3 separate regions of the Homo sapiens genome follow, and all the other regions are linked to region 1. The links are contacts of gene promoters, found by promoter capture Hi-C in human tissues and cell types (Jung and others, 2019). All regions are on one chromosome and are shown on one strand. Each heading gives the region's core, a stretch centred on a gene start or on the middle of the fragment in contact. The rest is flanking DNA. Distances are from core to core; before and after follow the strand shown.

Region 1 (4,107 bases), core at 1,271-3,770:
GAATAAAAAACTTTTTAAAGAAAAAAGTTCTAGAAATTCTGAGAGAAAAAAGTTTCCTTTTCGTTGACAAGCCTTAATACATAATCAATTGTGAGAGAAATGCTATTTGAAATGTAGGGATAGGAGCCTTGGTTTCTAGTTGTAATTTTGCTGTGCATGTGTAACATGCGTGACACTGTTGAGAATTTGGTAGTTATTTTAGCTCAAACTTCCTTCAGTGCCAGATGTCTATAAATAAATTTAAGATCCTAGAAGACCTACCTACTATGATCACTCTAGCTGGAAGTGATCTGTTATCTTTTTCTCTTTTTGGACAAAAAGGGTATGATCCAATCTAAACTTCTATAAAACTCGTCTGAACCACTCAAAAACAATGACCATAGGTTACCTTAAGTTGTCTCCTTAGCTCCCCTTTAGAATCGACATTTCTGGAAGAATGTCTACATATCATTCTAATACAAATTATTACCCCTATATTGTCCCTAATACATTGTCTTGCACTTTTTTGATACCAATACATTTTACTGGATTAATACATCTTACTGAATTAATTGGGCGGTACTTGGCAGCAATGTGGTTCCTGCCTGCCTGTGTTCTCCAACTTCCAATTCCGTTTACTGGATCTGGCAATCAGCCAGGAACAGGCAAAAGTGTTATTTCAGCTGTCTTAACTCTAATACATAAATTACTGCATCAGCAACATCCATACTTAAGAGTTCAGAGAGTGAGAATCTAGGGCCTTGTGGCCTAGCTAGCATTTCCAGTGGCTATCCTTGGCTACACCTCTGTCCTTTCAATATCCCTGGTATACCTACGTTACAGAAAATCTGTGTTAACACCAATGTACTAGGGTGTGGTGTTATATACCTCTAGTCTCAGCTACTTGGGAGGCTGAGGCAGGAGGACTGCTTGAGCATGGGAGTTCAAGGCTCCACCTGGTCAACATACTGAGACCCTCAACTCTAAAATAAATAAATTTTAAAAAATAACACCAATATATAGATCCCAATACTGCTCTAATGGATATTAAGTGCTATCAATAAGTACTTCTTGACACATCACTGGATGAATGAAAACAAACAATGATTACATTGAGAGTGACAATGAGTTGGTTTCAAAGCTATATTGAGTACTATTCACTCAGGCATACTCAATACATTTTTGTGAGCTCATGGCTTTCCTACTTGTGATTCTCAAAAGAATCCTATTGGAACCCCCCCACCCCCCAATCACAGTAAAACCTCAGATTAGGTCTTGGCAAACTCATTTTCTTGACAAATACAACTTAGAGGTTATATCTGGTCCCTCATTTGGATTATACTATATAAATTCTTCAGTGATTACTGTCGTTTGGTATTTGGTTAATTAAATCTACTGAGTGAGGTCAAACTTGCATTTGTCTTGTGTCAAGTTCCATTCTATGGCAGACTAATTTAACAGAGATTCCAAGGTTCTCTGCCTCCAAGCTGAATAAGCTACTAGAACAAAAAACAACTAGAAGCCACCTTATTCCCAATTCATTAACGTTGACTTCATGGTCCACACCAGAAAATGAACGCAACTCAATTCTCGAAGACACTATTCTAGAATTTTATACACTTAGGAATTCAGATCACAGGCTCAAAAGTTTTAGCAGGAGACCCACGGAGCTTGGGCCTTGATGCAAAAGCAGCTTTTGAAACTGCAAGCCACTCTACGCTTAATCGCGGCAGCTATAGGGAATTAAGTTTATTTCTGACCGCAGCATGCTAAAAATCAGTAGGATATGGGGCTAGAAGCAACAAAAAACGTAACAAAAATTAATTCCCCAATAAAGCTTTAAAAACTATTTTCCGTCGCTAACTGAAGTACGTAGCCAAATATGGAAGCTCTAAACATTCAGCTTTTCTTTAAAATCATAGATATCACCTAGTGTCGTCACTCGTTCTCTCCCCCCTTGTTTCTGCACCCTTTAGGTGAGTGAACACGACCTTGGCAGATGCACCCTACTGTCGGGATGTGGCCTTGGGGCGGAGCTGGCAGATACAAGCAGGATGGTGAGTGGAGGCGGCAAGGAACTCTTACAATAACACTATCCAAATGCCCTCCGACCTTCCGGAGGCAAAAAATGACCCTCTGGTGCCAGAGACTCGGTGAGTGGCGTGACCTAGAGATGGAGGACCAGGACGCAGCAAACCAGGCACAGAACAGTACCCAACGGGACAGAGTTCCACCGGACCAGCCCCCTTCCCAGAGCGCGCGGTAAGACGGGCGGCGGCCTCCATCCCAGGCTGCACACAGAGGGTCCCGGGATCTCCAGCAGCATCAGGCCTGGGACCCGGGCGCCAGCAGAGACAGCGGCACCGAGTGAGGCAGTCCCCTGCCGCGCCAAGAACAAGACCGGGGACAGAAAGAAAGCGAATAAAGATGAGGCAGTGGTGAAGGGGCTGGGCATCACCGTACTTACCTTTCCTCGTAGCCCCCACAGCACAGGATGCCGTGGCCGCCGCTCACCCACCGGCTCAGCTCACGCGCGCAAGCACCGCCCAACCGGAAGCGGGTCCGCACCCCGCCCTCATCCGCCTCGCCGGCGGCCTCCCGACCAATCATCAGCAAACCCGCCGCTGTCGCATAGCGTCCCCGAGTAGCCATTGGTCTAACAATCGCATAGCCGGGATTGGCTGGAAAGCGCCACGTCCCCGGGACCGCGCCGAGTTGCGTGGAGCGGATTCCCGCCCAACTCTCGTCCCCGGGATTGTTGGGACGGCGGGCTCCAGCCCCAGCCCCAGCCCCAGCCCCGTACTGCGGGTGGCGTGGGCGCGGCCGTGTGGCCGCCACGTCCCCATTCACAGCTCATGACTCTGCTTCCACAGGGCTTCTTAGACTATCCTGCTAGTTATCTTCATTCCCACAAGACCACCAGGGCGGAATTAATCCGACTGAATCAGTCACCAACTTTATTGAACAATCCCAACTTTTTCTTTCCCTTCAGCGCTGCGCCCTGCGCTATCTACAGGAGGCTCTTCAGTCTTTGGCACCAGTGTATCTTTTAGCTCCATCTCCCAACACTCCCCCTCATCTTGCGCTCTGGGCACCATCATCTGTTTCCTAACAACCGGTCCTTTTTCATCTCTTAAGATTTTTGATCAAGAGGCTTCCTCTGCCAGGAATAAGTGCGTTTTCCTGATTTTCTGCCTTGCCAATAGAAGTCCCAGTTCAGATGTTAGCTCTAGAAGCCTTCCCTGACCTCACTAAGCATAATTCTTACCTTATTTACCATCATAGCTGTTTATAGCTTCAGTACACTTTGCCAAATTCTGCTATAAAATGTAGCTTATCCATCTGTCCTCTTCTAGAGTAAGCTCCTGGGTAGGTATCTGTCTATTCATCTTTATATCTGCAACTCTGAGCTTACTGCCCAGCTCAGTAATGTTAAGTGAAGGGAATGGGCCGAACCCGTTGCATGTCCCTGAAAATTTAATTTCATGTCATGAAATTAAAACAAATATCAAATAAAGGCTACTATAGCTTCAACACAAATGGAATGTAAACCTGTGGCATTCTTAGCACATAAAGCCTCTGTAGTTTAAAATCAAATTGAGACAAGTTGTAAACTCATGAAACAGTTAAGCTCATGAAAGCAAGCTAGTTACTGTCAACGTGAAAGGTTTACAACTAATCCTTCTGGCATTCAAAGGAGTGTCAGTGACCCTTGGTGGTAGTCAGGGAAGGCTTCAGAGGAAGATATGACTAAGGCTGGACTAAGGAAGTCCCAAATGGACTATTCAGCAAGAAGAGTAATAGGAATAAGGACAAGTGGAGGGCAGAGTGGGAGGTAAATTCTCAGGCCAGGTAGCAAATGAGGAAGGTTAAAAAAAGGGGTGGGGGGAAACAATGAAAGAAAAGCATGGATAGTAAGTTTGGAGAGGTAATGGAAGATCTTGTCAATTTGAGGAACCTGAACTGAAGACAGTGGGAACTGTGGGTCTTCCTGGGAAAGTTTCTAAGCTTGTGCCTACAGGGAAGCCATCTAATGGGTATTAACAATAAAACAGGCTACCTCAGGAGGCATTATTTCGAAAACAGTTTTTAAAATACCTCCTTAAGGATCACTTGAGGCCAGGAGTT
Region 2 (3,613 bases), core at 532-3,031, 260 kb after region 1:
GCCTGTAATCCCAGCACTTTGGGAGGCTAAGATGGGCGGATCACGAGGTCAGGAGATTGAGACCATCCTGGCCAGCATGGTGAAACCCCATCTGTACCAAAATACAAAAAATTAGCCAGGCATGGTGGTGCACACCTGTAGTCCCAGCTACTCGGGAGGCTGAGGCAGGGGAATCGCTTCAACCAGGGAGGAGGAGATTGCAGTGAGCTGAGATCGCGCCACTGCACTCCAGCCTGGTGACAGAGCGAGACTCCGCCTCCAAAAAAAAAAAAAAAAGTATGGACAGTTTAAATGAAGGCTGTTTTTAAGGTGATCATGACAGTCCCAGATTTCAGTTTACTGCTCTTGCCAGTTCAGGGGGCCTTGACTAGTGTAGTAGAAAGAATAAAAACCTAACAAATTGAGCAGGACGGTGACAATGGAAGTTGGAATCCACTAAGAAGTGTGTTAACAACTCACAACTCACCTGCTGAATCAACCAAGACTCCCTAAGAAACAGGATTTTAGTTCCACTACTGCTACTACTGACTGCTTACCTCTGGGAAAAGCACTTAATGTCCTGTGGTCCAAGTGTCTTTAACTATAAAAAGAGAATATTGAACCACATGATTTTCAAAATCCCTTTTAACTATTAACTTGCTTTGATCTAGTTGCTGTCAGACTATGCAGGGTGAATGTTTTGTAACTGGAACCTTTTTGTTGTACAGAACTCTTTCAGCAGGTACTAAATTTGTAGTGCTATCTTCAATTGTCTGGAACAATCAGTCCTAGTTTTACTATCTAGGGATATTTTGCAGTGAAATCATCAACCTCTCAAGCAGGGGCCTCCTTTTCTTTGGCCAGACTTATCTCCACTCTGCTGCATCCACCTTTCCTTGACTGAAGCCCTAAATTCTCATAACCATCACACAAGTAATAGACACACAGTCACCAGTCATTAGCCCCCCTCCCAACAATATTTAGAATCTAATCACTTAAATGAAGCTTCAATGGAAACATCTCCTCATGGAAAATGCAAATCATGTAAAAAGTACAGGTTCTAAGATGATCGCGTGACCACACAGTTGTCATTGGCTAGCCATATCAACGTGGATCTACTCAACATAATTAAAGACAAAATTACCCTCCTCCAAAGTAAAACTATATATTAAAAAAACCCTCTACGACTTAAGATTTTGTTACAATGCAGCCCTTTTCCCTCCTTGCTCATCCCCTCCCTGTCCTGCTCTACTCCTGAGATCCGCATCAGGCCAGGAATAAAGGATGTGGGCGGCCGCGGTTCCCTGGCCTCTCCGGGAGGGCGCGTTCGGCAGTACGCTGGCTGTTGATACCAACGAGAGCCCATTTAAGCGCACCTTGTTTCTCCTGGCACACCCGCTGGATACTGTTCTCCTGGACTTTTCTCTCCGCCGCCGCGGCTTGCTCTTCCGACCACTCCACATTGTCCCTGAGAAAATCAAACGGGCAGCTTAGGGGCTTCACGTCCTGGCTGCGAGCAGGGTGAGTCGCTGGCCTAGGAGTTTCTCTCCCCTTGGAGAGTGCCTCGGGTAGGGCAGCTTGACTCGTGGCCGGCGGTCAGGGGCTTTTCGGAATGCTCCGAGGCGGCGGGACAGACGGCCAGCGACAGGCCGGGCGAGGGGGCAGGGTGATTACCAGGCATTGTGGTGGAAGACGCGCGCCGGATCGCTCAGGAACCGGCTTCCGAACTGCTGCCTCTTATCGGCGAGGATTGCAGGTGCACCTTCAGGGTAGGAGCCGGCCATGACACCGGAGCCGGAAACACTTCACTTTCCGTAACGCGAGAACTTCCTGCGGGCCACGCCCTCTTTCAGAAGACGTGGAGTCTGGGCGGGAAAAAGGGTGGCGGGACAGGGCGGTCCTGGAGTCTGGTCCGGGTGGCGCTCGGGAGCTGTCGTTTGGGGCTTTCCCAGGGTTGGCGAAGGGCTCTCTAGGGAAGGGGACCAGGCAGGGGGAAATTCTCCCCGGAGGAGTCGTATCTCATTGATGAGGTGCTGATGGACGTGCAGGTTAGGCAGAAAGTGGGAGACATTCCACTTGAGGCCCAGTTCATTGCTGGGATCCTCTTAACAGGTTCCCCAGCTTCCCTCAAGTTGTAAAACAGGAATAATCTTGAATCATTATAAGAGTTGAGGCTACCTAGTTCCACTGCGGAGCCGATGTCCAGAACTGAAGAAGGTAGCAAGCAGCGGAAAGAAACAGGGCAATTTCCAGCTTCTATAGTCAGCTCTTCATAGTGTGGGTGTATATGTATACACAGTGTGTATATATATTTTGGTTGGGGTGGGGGAGATGGATATATGAAATTAGAGAACACGAGGCTTAGCAAATCAAATGGAATATCCAAGGACAATTTTTTTTTAATTATAACCATCTAACCTTTTTGAATCATCCATATTATATTTATTATAATTATCCTTATTAGCACAATTAAGATTGTAATACACACATACAGTTTGTCATAGTAATACATTTCAGCCTTACATTTCTATTTCTAGATCTAATACAAATAGACTCTCAAAAGAATCTAGAAGAAAGTATGTTATAGACATAAGGTTATTTGAGAAGACTTCCAAGAGAAGCATGATGAATACCACTTGGAAAAGAAGGAAAGGGCAGAGACCAAACAAGGACCAGCCCAATATCTCTTGGACTTTATTTAATGTCATAATGTCAGAATAAAGGGAAAGATGAATTTTTTTAAAAAAGGAAAGGGTTAGTGCAGTGCTAGACATAGCACATTGGTAATTAGTACTTTTTTTTTTTTTTTTTTGAGACGGAGTCTTGCTCTGTTTCCCAGGCTGGAGTGCAGTAGCTGGATCTCAGCTCGTTATAACCTCCATGTCCTGGGCTCAGGTGATTCTCCTGCCTCAGCCTCCTGAGTAGCCGGGATTACAGGTGCGCGCTACCACACTCGGCTAATTTTTGTATTTTTAGTAGAGATGGGGTTTCACCATGTTGCCTGGGCTGGTCCTGAACTCCTGACCTCAAATGATCTGCCCACCTCGGTCTCCCAAAGTGTTGGGATTACAGGTGTGAGCCACCGTGCCCAGCCAGTAATTGTTTATTCCATTGTAAATTCTTTCTGTAGGTAAAACTACAGGGAGCAATGAATGATTCTATACTTTTCCTCCAAAGAAATGGGAACAAGCTCTAAGCCTCTCTAATCAGGAAGAAAAATACACAAGTTAATCAAAAAGATAGTAAAGAAGTTGTACTTCATTTGAAGACAATATGCTTTTGCCATTCTTGTGGTCTTTGGAAACATTTTGAACACAAGCTCCATACCCAGAAACAAGTACAAGGAATTTTTATCTTTTCTCAAGGCCAGCTGTTTGCAGATATGGTGGTTGATTTACATTTATTTCTGGCATCTTGTTTTCTCATCTGTGGGCTTTTATTCTCCCCTCACTAAAAGCTGTTAGTGTTCCCAATCAACAGTCCCACTGGATATTTTCTTGCAGACAGCTCATTGTCTTCACTTGAATTTACTATATTAGTTCCAATGGAGACATTTTAAATGTCAAACAGCTTTGGCCTTTTTTCTATGAAATGTGCTAAAGTATCCTAAACTTAATTTTATTTTTTATTTTTA
Region 3 (3,967 bases), core at 1,147-3,646, 350 kb before region 1:
GCGTCCCTCTGGTGATACCTTTTTTCCCTCCTTGCACCTGCCTTGGATCCAAGAAGAGCTTCCGGTCTTTGTTACAGTCAGCCCCTGGCGTCTGTTCCCCTAGCCAGGCGGAGTCCCGCTTTCTACCGCAAGAGGGCGATATGGCCACACTGAGCTGGGACCCAATTGCAGAATTGAGAGGAGTCGCTGTGGCCTGGGTTTAATCTGGCTTTGAGGGCTAGACCCCCGACTGGCCAAACCCTCCTCTGTCCCCTCCTGCCCCAAGCCAAGCTATGGAGAAACTGTGGAGCAGAAGAGCAGGGAGGCATTTCGCAAGTTGCATTTCATCTCTGGCGCATTGAAATTTAGGGCATGGGGTTGGGAAATTTGAGGGTGTTTTTTTTTCTTCCTGTGGTCTCATGGAGAATAAAATGTGCATTGCCTCTGCAAAGAGCTTGAAGACCAGGGCCAGGAATCAAAGTCCTTCTGGACCAGGGTCACGGGGGCTTTCAAAAGTGGAATGCTGGCCGGGCACGGTGGCTCACATCCGTAATCTCAGCACTTTGGGAGGTCGAGGCAGGCCGATTACTTGAGGTCAGGAGTTCAAGACCAGCCTGGCCAACATGGGGAAACCCTGTCTCTACTAAAAATACAAAAATTGGCCAGGCGTGGTGGTGGGTGCCCGTAATCCCAGTTACTCGGGAGGCTGAGGCAGGAGAATCGCTTGAACCTGGGAGGTGGAGGTTGCAGTGAGCAAAGATCCCACCACTGCACTCCAGCCTGGGCGACAGAGCGAGACTCCTTCTCAAAAAAAAGAAAAGAAAAGAAAAGAAAAGAAAAAAGAAATAAAGTAGAATATTGACACAATAGGCTTTTTAAAAAAACAAAATTTTCCCCACTGTTGAATGGTTTTCTCCTTCACTTTTCCTTTCCCAATGCTGCAGCCCACTTCTCTTCAACAACCTCACCTGAATCACACACATCAGAGCCAGAAGGGACCTAAAAGACCATTTGCTCCTGTGCTGCTCAAATTGTGCCCAATTGTCACTAGCACCAGAATCAGCTGTGCTTGTTAAAATGCAGATTCCAGGACCCTGACTCAGACGCCACTGGGTGGGTCAGAAACCTACATTTTAAATGGGCACGCACCCTCCTCCAGTATATACATGTGGTTATCCATGCGCACTAAATTTTGAGAAGTTCTTTAGTTCAGCTCTTTCCATTTACAAGGGAGGAACAAATCTCAGAGGTCAAGTGTCATGCCCAAGGTTATCCGGCAGAGTGGCAGCATCACTAGGACTGAAATCAAGACCCTGTACCCTGACCTCACATCAGGGTAAGTTTTTACTCCACGTTTCTGAGAGCCCTAGAGTTTTGAAGAGGTGCTTCAGAGGTTCTGCAAATATTTAATTGCAAAGTGACCTGTTTAAAAGAAAACAGAAATTTGGCATTTGCAACTTCTTATTATGTGAATCAGGATTTTAAAAAACCTTGTGGTTGCAAGGATCAGCCATCATGTTCATTTAATGTTATTGAGATCACTGCAAAAGTCCTACCTTTATTACTGGCTGACTTAGATAAAATAAACGGTTGAAATGCCACTTTTATTTATCTATTGGAATTCTTTTTAAAGTTTCATACGACAAAGCAATTCTACTGCTCTATATAAAATGTATTGGGCAATCACTAACTCTGCGAGCACAGTGTTAAGCACTGTGGAAATAAACAAAAACCACCCAAGTGAGAAGAAACAGAAGCTGTTTATTCAGCGCTTGCTTTAGCCAGGGTCTCAGCCACCATCACTCGCATTTGTCAGAGACTCAGGCAGGCAGGGCTGTGCAAAGCTTTATAGTGAAAAAAAGGGAAGTCTTCAGCTATGCCTTGATTGGAGCTTGTTGGCATGGGAAAGCTAGAGGTAGGCTGACTAGAAATTGAGCATCCAGTGTGATTGGATTGGGGACCATATTTGGCTTTCTGTGCTTGGTCCTGAGTTGGAAGTGGGGGCAGAAGTTAGGGCAGCTGCACTTACTGACTTGGTCAAGTTCTGACTGTTCTGGGATGATTGCTGCAGAGGCTGTGGTTTGGCTTCCTGGATGGGTTGCTGCAGAGGTTGTGGCCCAGAGTTCTATTGTCATATATGATCTGGCCATTGTCTGTTTGTATTTTCATTCTCTCAGCCTTATCTGCATTACTTCATCTAAGCCCTTTCACAACCCCATGAGATTGATAATATTATTATTTCAGCTTTGTGAATGAGAAATGGAATTGCAGAGAAGTTAGGTAACTTGGCCAAAGTCAGACAGTTATGAAGAGGTAAAGATAAAACTTGAACCTAGGCAGACTGACCTCAGAGCCCTGGGTTTCTGTCTCAGCTTTACAGGGAAAAAAAAATTATAGAAACTGACAAACTGTCTAAAAATTCCCATGAAAATGCAAAGGATCTAGATTAGCCAAAACATCTTTGAAAGAGAATAACAAAGTTGGAGGGCTAACACCACCTGATTTCAAGGCTTCATAAAAAATAATAGTCATCAAGATGAGGTGCTATTAACATCATGATAGACAGCTCAAATAGAACAGATCAAATGGAACAGAATAGAAAGTTCAGACACACATACACACACATATACAATTGATTTTTAAAAAGACCCAAAGGCAATGAGAAAGGATAATTTCTAATGAATAGTTTCAGTGAGTTGGGCTAGAACAGTTGGATAGCTATATGCAAAAAAAGAAAAAAAGAACTTCAATTCATACCTTATACCACGTATAAAAATTAAGTCAAAATCGATTATGCACCTAAGTGTAAAATCTAAAACTATAAAACTTCTAGAAAACATAGAAGTAAAATCTTTGTGACCTTTAATTAGATAATATGTCTTAGATATTACACTAAAAGCACAGTCAATAGGAAATAAATTTGATAAATTGGACTTCATCAAAATTAAAAACTTCTTTTCCTGAAAAGATGCCATGAGAAGAATGAAAAGACCAGCCACTGACTGGGAGAAAATATTTGCAAAGCCCATATCTGATAAAGGATGTGTATCCAGAATATATAAAGAACTTTGGAAATCAAATAAGAGCAAAGAATTCAACTTTTTTTCAAAAAGTAGGCAACAGATCTAAACAGTTATTTCACCAAAAAAATGGATGGCAAATAAGCACATGAAAAGATGTTCAACATTATTCACATTAAGGAAATATAAATTAAAATCACAATCAGAAACTACTGCATACCTATTAGATGTCTGATTAAAACCATGTGTTAATAAGAGTGCAGAGGAACTAGAACTCTCATACACTGTTGGTGGGAATGTAAAATGATAAAACCACTTTGGAAAACAGCTGATCAGTTTCTTAAAAAGTTAAACATACTTACCATATGATCTAGCCTTTCCACCTCTGTGTATTCACCCAAAAAAAGCACATATTCATACAAAGACTTGCACACAAATGTTCATAGTAGCTTTATTGTTTTCTTCCTCAACTTTATTGAGGCATAATTGACAAATAAAAATCATAGCAGCTCTTTTTTTAAGAGATAGGGTCTTGCTATGTTGCCCAGGCTGGACTCGAACTCCAGGGCTCTAGTGATCCTCCTGTCTCAGCCTCTCAGGTAACTGGGATTACAGGCAGGTGCCAGCACACCTGGCTTGAAGCTTTATTTTTTAATTTAATTTAATTTAATTTAATTTAATTTAATTTAATTTTTTGAGACGGAGTCTCACTCTGTCGCCTAGGCTGGAGTGCAGTGGCATTATTTTGGCTCACTGCAAGCTCCACCTCCTGGGTTCACGCCATTCTCCTGCCTCAGCCTCCCAAGTAGCTGGGACTACAGGTGCCGGCCACCATGCCCGGCTAATTTTTTGTATTTTTTAGTAGAGATGGGGTTTCACCGTGTTAGCCAGGATGGTCTTGATCTCCTGACCTTGTGATCTGCCTGCCCCGGCCTCCCAAAGTGCTGGGATTATAGGCGTGAGCCACC

Evidence for each region. The method cuts DNA at HindIII sites, captures the fragments that hold promoters and counts their contacts. A contact is called where the count stands out against the background at its distance.
Region 2: the fragment with the promoter of METTL2B here is called in contact with the fragment with the promoter of CALU in region 1 in 1 of the 25 tissues and cell types used here (aorta).
Region 3: a fragment that was not itself captured here is called in contact with the fragment with the promoter of CALU in region 1 in 1 of the 25 tissues and cell types used here (IMR-90 fibroblasts).

What each region holds. Positions count from the first base shown.
Region 1 is chr7:128,737,772-128,741,878 of GRCh38, reverse strand. CALU (calumenin) reads right to left here and starts at 2,520. Exons shown (of 7, transcript NM_001219.5): 1 at 2,447-2,520. RefSeq lists an enhancer at 2,184-2,283 and silencers at 2,564-2,703, 2,774-2,913. The HindIII fragment of the contact is 3,801 bases long and covers 880-4,107 here.
Region 2 is chr7:128,474,916-128,478,528 of GRCh38, reverse strand. METTL2B (methyltransferase 2B, tRNA N3-cytidine) reads right to left here and starts at 1,781. Exons shown (of 9, transcript NM_018396.3): 1 at 1,654-1,781; 2 at 1,356-1,447. The coding sequence starts at 1,763. RefSeq lists enhancers at 1,505-1,674, 1,895-1,944. The HindIII fragment of the contact is 14,580 bases long and covers 1-3,613 here.
Region 3 is chr7:129,087,846-129,091,812 of GRCh38, reverse strand. No RefSeq gene overlaps it. Among named protein-coding and RNA genes, the nearest start is that of TNPO3, 35 kb to the right of the region's middle. RefSeq lists an enhancer at 1,806-1,955. The HindIII fragment of the contact is 6,650 bases long and covers 1-3,967 here.